Regions from separate parts of the Homo sapiens genome. Here all the other regions are linked to region 1. The links are contacts of gene promoters, found by promoter capture Hi-C in human tissues and cell types (Jung and others, 2019). All regions are on one chromosome and are shown on one strand. Each heading gives the region's core, a stretch centred on a gene start or on the middle of the fragment in contact. The rest is flanking DNA. Distances are from core to core; before and after follow the strand shown. Region 1 overlaps USP2 (ubiquitin specific peptidase 2). Region 2 holds the start of NLRX1 (NLR family member X1). Region 3 holds the start of ABCG4 (ATP binding cassette subfamily G member 4). Region 4 holds the start of CBL (Cbl proto-oncogene).

Evidence for each region. The method cuts DNA at HindIII sites, captures the fragments that hold promoters and counts their contacts. A contact is called where the count stands out against the background at its distance.
Region 2: the fragment with the promoter of NLRX1 here is called in contact with a fragment that was not itself captured in region 1 in 1 of the 25 tissues and cell types used here (dorsolateral prefrontal cortex).
Region 3: a contact is called between the fragment with the promoter of ABCG4 here and a fragment that was not itself captured in region 1, in 1 of the 25 tissues and cell types used here (dorsolateral prefrontal cortex).
Region 4: a contact is called between the fragment with the promoter of CBL here and a fragment that was not itself captured in region 1, in 2 of the 25 tissues and cell types used here (dorsolateral prefrontal cortex and neural progenitor cells).

The regions. Positions count from the first base shown.
Region 1 is chr11:119,352,819-119,356,090 of GRCh38, forward strand. It overlaps USP2 (ubiquitin specific peptidase 2), which reads right to left. Exons shown (of 13, transcript NM_004205.5): 13 at 2,397-3,272. Among named protein-coding and RNA genes, the nearest start is that of MFRP, 7.8 kb to the left of the region's middle. The HindIII fragment of the contact is 6,124 bases long and covers 1-3,272 here.
Region 2 is chr11:119,167,207-119,170,372 of GRCh38, forward strand. NLRX1 (NLR family member X1) reads left to right here and starts at 1,519. Exons shown (of 10, transcript NM_001282144.2): 1 at 1,519-2,096. RefSeq lists a silencer at 1,428-2,037 and enhancers at 1,609-2,314, 2,315-3,019. The HindIII fragment of the contact is 23,273 bases long and covers 1-3,166 here.
Region 3 is chr11:119,147,779-119,150,815 of GRCh38, forward strand. It overlaps ABCG4 (ATP binding cassette subfamily G member 4), which reads left to right and starts at 1,274. Exons shown (of 15, transcript NM_022169.5): 1 at 1,274-1,585; 2 at 2,176-2,425. The coding sequence starts at 2,188. RefSeq lists an enhancer at 656-715 and a silencer at 1,373-1,452. The HindIII fragment of the contact is 17,825 bases long and covers 1-3,037 here.
Region 4 is chr11:119,204,601-119,207,706 of GRCh38, forward strand. It overlaps CBL (Cbl proto-oncogene), which reads left to right and starts at 1,739. Exons shown (of 16, transcript NM_005188.4): 1 at 1,739-2,012. The coding sequence starts at 1,818. RefSeq lists silencers at 1,247-1,316, 1,357-1,746, 1,817-2,006, 2,197-2,256. The HindIII fragment of the contact is 26,271 bases long and covers 1-3,106 here.

The sequences.
Region 1 (3,272 bases), core at 423-2,922:
CAGGGAACTAGAGTTAAGTTCCGTATCTTGGGACTTGAGCATGTGTTTAGAGGAAAAGTGACTTAGAATGATTGATAACATGGGAGTGGAGACCTTCAAGATCCACAAGTCCTATCTCAGTAATTTGCAGATGAGGCACGGAGGCCCAGAAAGAGGGAGGTTCTTGTTCAAGGTCACACAAGAGCAGTTGCAGGGGAAGCCCCTCCCCTAGGGAGAGGCCTGCTGGATCAAGAGCAAACAATGAGGGAAGAGAGCCAAGTTGCTAGGAGGCAAAGCTTGATGGACAAAAAAACGTGGGGACAGACCTGCGTGTGTTTGTGCTCTGTGTAACACTAGGACCTGTTGCCATGGGGATGAGAAAGCACCACAGATTAATTACTGAAGAGCTGGGAGCAAGGGTGGCGGACCTGAGTGGAGCCCCTGCCCTCAATGTCTCCTAGAGTCCATCTGTTCCCCAGTGGAAGACAGCAAAAATTACAGGGCTGCTTCTACCTCCAGTGAAGAACTAGTCAGAGTACAGCCATTCACTTTGCTACAAGCCTCATGTTTTTATTTTGAGGGGATCCTGTTTGCCTGCGGCTTGGGGGCAATCATCAGGGTAAGATTTCCAATCACAGCCTGGGTCAGGCCACCCTCAGGGCAGGCCAGGGAAGTTTGGGTCCCTCAGGGAGAAATTCCAAGTTTTAAGTCACTGTCATTTTCAATCCCTCTTCTTCACTCTTGGGAAATGCTTAGAAAAATGCCCCCACAACTGTCCCCCTCCATGAGGTGGGTTTGATAGCAGCACACAGGCCTTAAGTGACAGCAGGTGCTTCTGTCTCAGCAAGGATGGAATAGTCAGGCCTTTATTTTTCAGTGTCTGGAGCAGTGAAGGCAGTGAGGAAGAATCCTGATGAAACACTCCAGGCTCACCTGGTGGAGCCTTCAGCTTCCCTAGTTCTAAGACCAGCAGCAGAAATGGAAAAGCTGAACAGTGCTAATGAAGAGGTGACACCAAAGGAGACGTGGGTCACCGAGTGCACCAAAGGCATCACCTCTTTTAGGGGTTAAATCTGAAGTCTTGAGAAAAAGCACTTTAGGGAACAAAGCCTGTAACATAAAGGTAACTGTTTCTAAGTATTAGGTGGTAAAGCTGAGATCTTTGACTTATCAAAGACTAAGCCCTGGCTGGGCGTGGTGGCTCACGCCTGTAATCTCAGCACTTTGGGAGGCCGAGTCAGGCAGATCACCTGAGGTCAGGAGTTCGAGACCAGCCTGACCAACATGGAGACACCCCCGTCTCTACTAAAAATAGAAAAATAGCTGGTCGTGGTGGCGTATGCCTGTAATCCCAGCTACTGGGAGGCTGAGGCAGGAGAATCGCTTGAACCCAGGAGATGGAGGTTGCAGTGAGCTGAGATCATGCCATTGCGCTCCAGCCTGGGCAACAAGAGTGAAACTCTGTCTCAAAAAAAAAAAAAAAAAAAAAAAAAGACTAAGCCCTGGTCACTCCACATCCAGGTAATGATACTCTGCTCTAAGAGCAAGTTTTGCTATATTTGACATCTGCTGGAGAGATGTATTTTATCTTATCATAGGTCTGTGAAAACACCCAAGTGTTTCTTTTTTCATAGAGACAGGGTCTCACTATGTTGCCCAGGCTGGTCTCAAACTCCTGGCCTTAAGCCATCCTCTCACTTCAACTTCTTGAATTACTGGTGTGAGCCACCATGCCCAGCCCCAAGAGTTTCAACCAAGAATTAAGAGAGTAGCCCATACCAGCATTAAAAAGTAGACAGTTCATTAAAAAAAAAAATGGACATGTGAAAACCATGTCACATAGGAGAATGTCCTGATTCTTAGGAGATGTATGCTCAAGTATTTAGAAGTGGTGATATAACACCTCACCTGAAAATGTTTCGGCAGACAGAATAAAGTACAGTTGACCTTTGAACAATGCGGGCTTGAACTGTGTGGGTCCACTTTCACGTGGATTTTTTCAACCAAATAAGGATAGAAAATACTGCATTTGTAAGATGCAAAACCCACATATATAGAAGGCTGATTTTCATATACGCAGGTTCTGCAGGGGTGACCTTGGGACTTGAATATGGTGCAGATTTTGGTATGTGTGTATCTTGGAACCAATCTCCCTGTGTATACTGGGGGATGGCTGTATATTTAAATGTGTTTGTAAACAATTGGTGAATCCAGATGAAGAATATAGTGTCCAAAATATGTATTGTTTCAGTTTTTAAAAAATTAAACTTAAATGTTCAAACTAAAAAGTGGGTAACTTTTTCCAGAAACTTGGAATTTACAAACTGGTTGAAACAATGAAATAGATGGCCCCTAATATACTAGGAGCCCTTCCTAGATTCAAACACTCCCAAATCAAGATTCCAACATCTGCCAACTGATTTCTCAAAGCTATTATTTATTCTGTACAAGGTTCCACTGTACATTAGACATTCTTCTACTCTTGCTTACACAGTAAACAAGTGTACACTTGCCCTTGGGCTCAGGTTCACAGGTCTTCTCTGGAGAAGGGTGTCAGGCCAGTAAAACTCAGGGTGTCTTTCTCTGATGCCTCCTCCTAGGAGCCTGGAATGTGCCAGGCTCCACGGGGCACAAGCCGGGCCCAGCTGTGTGGGTGAACAGCTTTACTCTCCAGGACAGCACAGAGTTTTATCCAACTATGTAGGGCAAAATTGAGCCCACAGGAAAGAACCATACAACTGAGGCAAGATGTCCCCAAATACCCAGGCTCCAGCTCCCAGGGCAGGACTGGAGACCAGCGCTAAGAAGAGCTGAGGGGTGGCCTGGGCATCCCTGAGAAACTCGGTCCAAAGGGCCTATTGTCTAGGAGGCTCTGAGAAGGGGGCGGGGGCAGGAAGGCCAGGGGGAAAGGGATGTTAAGAGAATAAATAAAAGGGAGAGAAGCTCTAGGGACGAGGGGCTTGTGCTATCCTTCAAACAGCTGGGGAGCAGACCAGGGGTGGGCTAGAGGACGTGGGCGGGAAGAACTTGATGCCCTGTCGGAAGGAATCTACCTGCTTTCTTCTTTGCCTCACTGCAATGCACAACGAGCCAGGGCTAAGGGCAGGATCCCTTTCCCAGGCGGGTTTGAACAGAGCACTGGGGAAAAGGGAAGAGGCTGAGGGATATTTCAGGAGGGGCAGTTACCCCCTGGTCCCCAAATGCTATAAGGCACAATTCTTGGAGGCAACTAAATTCCATTCAAAACATTAAAAAAAAAAAAAAAAAACCCAAACCCCCAAAACAGAAACTTG
Region 2 (3,166 bases), core at 269-2,768, 190 kb before region 1:
GAGTCTTGCTCTGTCTCCCAGGCTGGAATGCAGTGGCGTGATCTTGGCTCACGGCAACCTCCGCCTCCTGGATTCAAGCGATTCTCCTGCCTAAGCCTCCTGTGTAGCTGGGACTGCAGGCATGCACCACCCAGCCCGGCTAATTTTTGTATTTTTAGTAGAGATGAGGTTTCACCACGTTGCCTAGGTTGGTCGTGAACTTCTGAGCTCAGGCAATCCGCCTGCCTTGGCCTCCCAAAGTGCTAGGATTACAGGCATGAGCCACCATGCCTGGCCAATTTTTGTTATTTTTAGTAGAGACGGGGGTTTCACCATGTTGGCCATGGTGACGAGTTTGAGCTGGTCCCAAACTCCTGGCCTCAGGAGATCTGCCCTCACCCCCAGCCTTCCAAAGTGCTGAGATTACAGGTGTGAGCCACCGCGGCTGGTCCTCTGATTTATTTTTTCAGATCCAGTACAAATGTTACCTCCTCTGCACTCCCTTTTCCAGACTCTCCTAATGCCTTGCCTCTGCCACTGAAGTACATCATTTGTTTGTCTGTTTTTTATATTTTTATTTTCTATTTTCATTTTAAATAGAGACAGGGTCTCACTATGTCACCCAGGCTGGTCTCAAACTCCTGGTCTCAAGTGATCCTCCTGCCTCGGCCTTGAAGTACATCATTTGTAAATGTGGTAGTTGATTCCATTAAAGTGAGGTGCCTGCCTTGCTGTGGTTGGCAGCCCAGGGCCTAGTGCTGGACCTGGCTTGTGGGGGTGAGGTGCTCAGTGCTACCCAATACCACAGTACAACGAATGAACAAATGTCTAAATGAAACATCCACATTGTTTTCAGTAAGTCCTCTTCCCAGCCCTGCCCTGGAGAGCCTCTCTGTGGGTGCCCTAGTGCACAGCTCTGTTGTGTGAACATCGTACACTCATGCTTGCATACGAAGGCGTGCCCTGGCTGTGGGTGGTGGGTGGCTCCTCCTTCTGGGCTACGTGAGCCCAGGGTGTGGAAGTGTGTGGAAGTGTAGGGATAAGGGTGGGGGCTTTGGGAACTGGGAAGCCCCAGGGCTAGGCCATGAATGGGTGTCAGACCCGAAGAGCAGGTTGGGGTGCAAGTTGTCCTTCAGCCCCCATTCTTCCTTCTTTCTTAACCAAGGTTACCAGCAGCCACACACATAGGTCTGGGCTCTGAAGAGGACCGGATACATAAGGCAGAACCCAAGGAAGCCTTAGGCTCAGGTCTCTGCCTGAAGGTAGGCTGGGGAGGCGGAGAGGGACAGAGGGAAGAATCCCCTGGACACCGCGCCTCAGGGAGGCCCAGGGGTAAGGTAGGAAGACTCAGGCCCGGGATGTTGTTCTGGCTCATCCACTTCCTAACTGAATCAACCTGCACAAGTCATTTCACCCTTCTGAGCATCAGTTTCTTCATCTGTAAAATGGGCCTAACAAGCAGCCCAGCCTGGGAGGTGGTTAGTGAGGTCACTGGGTGTCACTGGCGCTTGGGAACCTGCAGAGGGCAGTACTAGCGGCAGTGCCCGCGGGGATGGAGGCAGGGAGGGGGGACGATGGCGGGACGGGTGGCGCCGGGGTTCCAGCCCTGCGCCTGCTCCGGAGCACCGGGCCCCTCTCGCTGACCCCCTCGTCCCAGGACCCCGCAGGCCCGAGTGCCTGGGCTCGTCCTCTTTCGCGCCCGCTGCCAGGTGCCAGGGCCGCGCAGGCGGGCGGAGGTGGGCAGGAAGCGCCACGCCGAGGAGCCGGGGACTCTGGGAGCTAGCGGGAGACGCCGGCGTCCGCCCAGCCGACCCCTCTGGGCCGCGGCCGACGGCTCCCGGAACTGGGCAGCCGCGGGTAAAGGCCTAGCGGGCTTGATAACCCCTGCGCCCTGGCTGGGAGGCCGCGCTGAGCGGGGGGCAGGGCGGGCCGGGGGAGGAGGCTGTGCAAGGGCCGCGGGGAGATCCCGGCCGAGAACGAGAGGGACGGAGCTGGGCGCTGAATGGCGGGCGTTCTGGCAAGTCTCCCCCTGCGTTCCCGAGGCCACCCGAAAGTAGGAGAGCTGTTTGGGACCCAGTTTGGTGGAGGAGCTCTGGACCTGTAGGAACACCGCCCCTGTACGTTTCCTGCAGTGCCCCCTCCTTTTCTCATTGCCCTGGAGACCTGGGTGATCACCGGAGAACTGCCCTCGGCCCCGCAAGTCCCGTCTTGACTCAGTGGCCCTAGATCCGAGGTTAAACCGGAACCTAGGCTTTCTCAGGCTTCTGGAGCCCTCTCTTAACCCTTCCGCAGCCCCTGGGACGGGCCAGCACCCAGCCAGCTCCTCCGCTGGTTGGCCCTGCTAAGGCAGGTGGCCCAATGCAGCCAGTTCTCCTTAAGCGTACCCTGCCCAAGAAGCCCCGATCTCAGTGGAGGAGACCAGGTGCCAAATAGGGGCACATTCCATTTAAGTGAGTTCAGAGGCCTCAGAAAAGACTTCCCAGGGACGGAGACTTTTGAGCAGGATCTTAAAAGATTGGTTGGGGCCCGAGTGGTGGCTCGCGCCTGCAGTCCCCGCACTTTGGGAGGGCAAGGCGGGCGGATCACTTGAGCCCAGGAGTTCGAGACCACCCTGGGCAACAATGGTGAAAACCCCGTCTCTACAAAAACCAAAGCCAAAAATTAGCCAGGTGTGGTGGCACACCACTTTAGTCCTAGCTACTCAGGAGGCTGAAGCAGGAGGATGGCTTGAGCCCAGGAGGTAGAGGTTGCTGTGAGCTGAGATCGTACTACTGCACTCCAGCCTGGGCAACAGAGCGAGAGACCCTGTCTCAGGAAAAAAAAAAAAAAAAAAAAAAAAAAAAAAAAAATTGGTTGGGACTCTAACAGAGGAAAAAGGTCATTCCAAACTGGGAAGAGTGTATGAACAAATTTAGGACAGCAAGAGCAAGAATCCGGTGAGCCTGGGGTATAAGGCACAGGCTGGGACAAACTCAGAAAAATAGCTTGTGGGAGCCCAGTGTTTGGACTCTATAAGTAACCTTGGACTTTTCGGGAGGTGCTTGGTGCTTGGGGTGAGGGATTAGAATGGGATGAGACTGAAGGCAGAAAGGCTGGTGAGGAGATCGGGTCCAATAAATGCTGGTCGGGGCAGCAACTGGCTGGCAAAGCAGTGGGGAGGAATTGCTAGGACTCTTCACACTGCCTA
Region 3 (3,037 bases), core at 24-2,523, 210 kb before region 1:
AAGATTAAATAACATAATGCCTGGTACAAAGTAGTTAATAAATGCAACTGTTGGGGGATGGGGAGGTCTATAGTAGCTGATGAGAAGTTGACTTGGAGAATGGAGGGTCCATCTGGAGAACAGGAGGTTGGTCCTGAGGAATGGTGGTGATGTGGGGCATGGAGTTGGGGGAAGATAGGAAAGACTGGATCCAAACCCCACACAAACCTCAGAGTAACAGGGCGGGGCCTAGAGAAATCCTCCAGGGATCGCCAGCTTTTAGGGCTGTGGAGAGGTGGTTGGGAGGGGGGCCAGCAGGGGAGAGGTTTGACTGCTAGTAACCCTCAACTGCTGCAGTAAGGAGAAGCCTCAGCGGTGGCAGTCACACCAGCAGCCTCAGAGCCTTCCCTCCCCATCGTCTCTGCTGTGTGACAGGTGGGAACTTAAAAGCTCAGATCACGTGTCTTGGCTAGCTAACCTACTTACCCCTTGAAGACATAGTGGCTGGGACAGGCAAGGGCCAAGAGGAATTGGCTGAGAAAGGGGCAGAGCAGGGGAAAGCCCCAAGTGTGTTCTGGGGACCTACATTTGAAGGCTTTGGGGGCAAGGGAGAGAATGTGCAGGTGCATGAGATGCCCAGGGCATGTCTGCGAGCCCTGTGCATGCCCTGGCACACAGGTCCCTCCAGGATATGGCATGTGCCTGTCTTGAAGGCCTGTATCTGGCTAGGTGACTACAGTCGGAGCAGGCTGAGCACTGGGTTCCAGTTTAACTCTGGAGCTACTGCAGGCTCTCCCAAAGCTGCTGCCATTTTCCCTTCTTTATTAGTGTCCTAACTCAGAGAAAGTGTGAATGGGGAGACAGGAGGATGTTCCAATGTCCCAAGGCTCCTGCGTTTTTGAAAGCCTTTGCACCTCGTTTGGGGATTCCTGGAGGGAGGCCTGCGCTCATTCATGGGCTGGAACTGAGGGAAATTGTTGGGGGACTGGTATCGTGTGTGAAGACAGACTGACACCTTTACAATCCCTCCACTTTCCCCCACCCCCAACACCCTTGCCTAATCTGTCTTCCAGGGACTTGTCCCCACGGAGTGACTCCAGCTCTCCTTTCCTCACTGCCTCCAAGTCGGCCCTTTGCCATCAACCCCCAGTCCTGAGTTCACCCCTGCACCTCCTCCGGCCCCCGCGCCGCAAGCGCTGCTCTCTCCTTTGCCGTCCTCGCCCCCCGCGGGCTGCCGGGCGGCGCGGGCCCTTTAAGAACGGCGGGACCGGCGAGCAGTAGCTGGTAGGAGAGCGCAGTCGCCCCGCGGGCTCGGAGGACACAGCGTCCGGGACCAGGCTCTGGGAAGCGGGTGTGCACAGCCCAGCAGAGTCAGGGCGCGACCCCAACCGCCTCTCACCATCCTTGCCGTCTCCTCCGAGCCGAGGGCCGGCCCTCCTGCCTCGCCTGCCCCGCCCCGGCCCCGCCCCGGCCCGGGCCGCCGGGACCGGGAGCCGGGACGCGGGTGCCGCAGCCCGAGGCAGGTAAGGGGAGCCCCGGCTCTCCGTCCCCGGTCCGTGGCAGCGCTGAGCATCCCGGCCCCGCACCGGCCCGGGGGCGCGTCAAGGTGACTAGGCATGCGGGAGATGGGGCGGGGGCTTGAGCTGCCGTGGGGCGCTTAGTTTTGAGTCCGGGTGGTGCGCCTGGCTTTGGGGACAGCCCGGGGCACGCGGGCCCGGGGGTGCCGGCGGGAGGGGCCGGCCTGGGCGTCGCGCCAAGGGATGGGGAGTGGGACGCAGCCGGAGGCCTGAAGCCTCCTCCTCTCCGCCTTCCCCTGGTCCGCCCTGCACTCACCCTGCTACCCCGACCTCCTAGAGCGGGCAGCCTCTGCCGGCTGCCTCTTCTCCCCCGCCCCCTATTCCTTCAGTCCCCAGGGGCTGCTGGCCTGCGGGGTAAGGAGATTAGAGAAGCCGCCGGGAGGAAGGAGCGATTGAGGGCTTCAAGGGGACGGGCTGGGGTCAGGCTGGAGCTGGGCTGCCCGGGACTGAGCGTCTCCGTGCGGAGAGTGGGGGGCGGGGGCAGAGTGCGGGGCTAACAGTCGCGGATCTGCCCCGAGAAGGAGGTGGGCAGTGGGGGCGGGGGAAGCATTAGAACGCCAGGGAGCTTTGAGCCGGGCTCGGTGGTCTGCCCCAAACTGAGCAGGCCCTCCCCTTGCAGGTCGGCGGCGTGATGGCGGAGAAGGCGCTGGAGGCCGTGGGCTGTGGACTAGGGCCGGGGGCTGTGGCCATGGCCGTGACGCTGGAGGACGGGGCGGAACCCCCTGTGCTGACCACGCACCTGAAGAAGGTGGAGAACCACATCACTGAAGCCCAGCGCTTCTCCCACCTACCCAAGCGCTCAGCCGTGGACATCGAGTTCGTGGAGCTGTCCTATTCCGTGCGGGAGGGGCCCTGCTGGCGCAAAAGGGGTAGGGAACAGCCTGGTAGGGGGAGTCCGTGGGCCCTCTCTGAGTTGCCTCTCCAGAAGCATGAGGCCTGGGTGTCCCATGTTCGGAAAGTCCTGCACCAGTGGGCTCTGTGGAAACACTAAAATCTGGGCCCCAGCCCGTTGCTCACTGTGCACTCTTGGGGTGTCAGGATCTACGCTCCCCCACACCTGTGAGCACCATGGGATACTAGGTGCAATTGGTTATTGAAGCTGTATCTTCTAAAGAGATCCCGTGACCTCTGGTCCTTGAGTGGTCCTTGATGAGTTTTCCTTCTTTTGTTTATGGAGGATTCCTACCTGTGAGGGCTGGTATGAAAAAGTAGGGGGCTGTGTCTGCAGGGTTGAGCAATACCCTTGGACCTAATTATAAAGACGTTCTCATTCCTGTCATCTTATTCCATTCTTACCACAGTGCTCAGAAGCAGGGAGGGTGGCGGTTTGGCAGGATAGATGTCATCTCCATGTTACTAATAAGGAAACTGAGGCCCAGGGAAGTTGAGTAACTTGACCAATGTCACACAGCTAGTAAGTGGTAGAGCTGAGACCAGAAGCCCGGTTTCCCAGCTCTCCATGCATTGTTCCTTTCTCTCTC
Region 4 (3,106 bases), core at 489-2,988, 150 kb before region 1:
TGATGACTTGGTGAGTCAGCTAGCATAAGACATGTGTACCAGGGAGTAGTATAAAACTACAAGGTTGTTTAGCTTGGAGTTAGAGCAACTTGTCAATTTTATTCCCGAGGCAATGGGAGGTGTTTAAAGTTTTTTTGCGATGCTGTCTGAACTATACTTTAGGAAGCCTATGGTGGCAGGATGAATTGAAGGCACAGGAAAAGGTTTCAATATTCAATAGTCCAGGGAAAAGAAACGGAGGACCTGCAACTAGGTGTTGGCACTAAGGGATGGAGCTTTGCCTAGATTTTCCCTTTGTAGATTCTTCTCTTCCTGGATGGAAAATGATAAAAGGAAATTCTTCTGATAGTAAATTATAATGTTGACTCCAAAATCAATTCTAGATAAAGGCGATTAAATTGCAAACCCAGGATGCCTGTCTGAATGGTCCCTGCATTCAAAGATATTTTCCCCTTTACAGGAGCACCGGATAAATTTAACTCCCTAATCTGTCAAGGGCTTTGTGGAAGAGCCTGGAGGGGGATCGAAGGCGGAACTGATACTGACACACCTGGGTCTGCAAACTCCCAAAACTGAGGCTCAGAATTAGTAAATTAGGGCAGGGCACTTCCCTCTTTGGAAGGGAAGTTCCTATTTTCAAAGTTCTTCCAACGGAACTTTTACATTAGAGAAGTGTAATTGACTGAGAAGTGGAAGTGACCAGGAACAGCATTTCTGTTCCCTGGGCGGGAGAGAGAACCCCCTCGGGCGGAGCCAGCAGCAGGTCAGCTTCTGAGGGGGCCCTCATGCTGGCGGCGCCGACCTGTGGTGCAATGCTCTGAGTAGGAGAATCTTAAATACATGTTTGAGATTCAATTCCCAGAAACGTAACTAGTCTTCACAAGCCAAAAAAATAAAAATAAAAAATAAAAAAAGGAAGTGATTTCTTTTCAAGAGGTCAAAGGGCCTGGAAGAAGAGGTCCTGGCTTGAGTGTCTCAAGGCTTTCTGGGGCCTAATCCGGCTGGAATGGGCCGCAGCATTCATATTCCTGTCCTTGGTCGTGTCTTAATGAAGAATTGAAAATAATAAGGGGTGGAGAAATAACTTTCCTTTTTCTCCCACCATCCTCCCACAGTGTAAATAAACAAATAACTCTAAGCTCGATTTCCTCATTTGTCAGGGGTGGGGAAAGACTTGACATCAGGACTCTTCCATTCCATCGCCACCTGTCTTAATTTAAACATTCCCATGACCCACCCCAGAAGCGCCAACCTCCCGCCCACAAGGAGCATGGAAGTCTTGGTTTCTGGCTACTGCGCAGACTCCACCTTGGACCTACTCCCCAACCCCCCGCCGCTCCTTTCCCCGTTTCTCCAGCAGAGGGCGCAGGCCCAAAGGTTCCGCCGACCCCGCCCCAGCCTGGCCCCGCCCCGCCCCGGCGTAGGGGCGGGGAAGACGGGCACAGAAACCTGGCCGCGGCTTTCCGGGAGCTGTGGGCACGCGAGCTGCTCGAAGCCGGTGGCCCGGGGATCGTCGCTGCCCAGTCCGGCCGCGGCCGGCCGCTTCCCCGAGCTTACCAGTAAGCCGGTCCGCCTCCGGGACGCGCCCCGCCCGCCCCGGGCTCGCGCGCTCTGAAGGGGCGCGTCCCGCGCACTCCCGGCGCCGCCCACTCCCCTCCCCACGGCCGCTCCTCCCTCCGCCCGGATAGCCGGCGGCGGCGGCGGCGGCGGCGGCGGCGGCGGCCGGGAGAGGCCCCTCCTTCACGCCCTGCTTCTCTCCCTCGCTCGCAGTCGAGCCGAGCCGGCGGACCCGCCTGGGCTCCGACCCTGCCCAGGCCATGGCCGGCAACGTGAAGAAGAGCTCTGGGGCCGGGGGCGGCAGCGGCTCCGGGGGCTCGGGTTCGGGTGGCCTGATTGGGCTCATGAAGGACGCCTTCCAGCCGCACCACCACCACCACCACCACCTCAGCCCCCACCCGCCGGGGACGGTGGACAAGAAGATGGTGGAGAAGTGCTGGAAGCTCATGGACAAGGTGAAAGGCCGGCTGAGCGCCCGCTGTTGCAGGGTGGGCGTGGGCGGAGGGCCGCGGGGAGGGGAACGAGCGGACGGAGGAAGCGGGGGAGGGGACGGGTCTGGTGAAGCCGGGGAGGCGCGGAGCCGGGGTGACCGGCCGGGGGCGTGGGGGCAGGGACGAGGCCGGGAGGGTGGGGGGCGGCGTGGGGGAGGGGCTGCCGTTGGGAGTCGGGGAACGCTGGGGTGCCGCGTTTGGGGTAGCCAGACAAAGATGGAGTGGGGGCTGGGGCGAAGGTTAACTGGGAAGTCAGTGGGGCGGAAGTACAATGAGGGGTGCGGAGTTTGGGGCTCTGTGCAGGGTGTAGGGATGTAGGTCACGGAATTGGCCTGGGAGGTTAGCAGGGAGGGGGTGAGGAAGAGTGATGTACCGGCTGGGGCTCTTGGCTGGGTGAGATCTGACTAGGGAATTAGGTTCATGGGCTCTGACTGAGGAACCTGGCTGGGGTCAGGACAGCTCTCAGGGAAGCTGTGCTCTGGGTGAGAGTATAGTCCTTTCTCATTAAGATGTAACACGAAGATAAAAGACATATTGATGTTTAAGTGAGGCAAGGAAAGAACTTTCCTCCCCATCTAGCGCCGGCTCAAGTTTTTTGTTACCCTCAGAAACACTGGATGTGATCCATTGCTGGTGCTGAGATATGCACTGATTAAACCACAAGTTCTGGTTAGAACTATTATCTTCTGAAAGATGGACTGGCTGAGCCTGTTAAGCAGCAGCAGATTCTGACTTCTTAATAACTTCCTCCCTACTACATCGCTTGAGCTGGGTTCTTTTTTTCTGGTAACGGTTCTGACTCCTTATTACAGGTCCTGACTTTAAACTTGTTCGTTGAGCTTCTTTGATTACGCTTTTTTGTTTGTTTGCTTTTTGCAAGTGCGAACAAAAATAACTCCTTTATATTTAGCCACTAAGTTTGTCATTTGGGAGAATTTTACTTCCTTATAGTTGTGTCTATATGATGAAATGTAGTCAGTCTCAAGTATTTAACTGTTTAAGCAGTCGGACGCTTTGTCAGAATTCAATACGTTTTCTTGGTATTTTTCATATTCTTT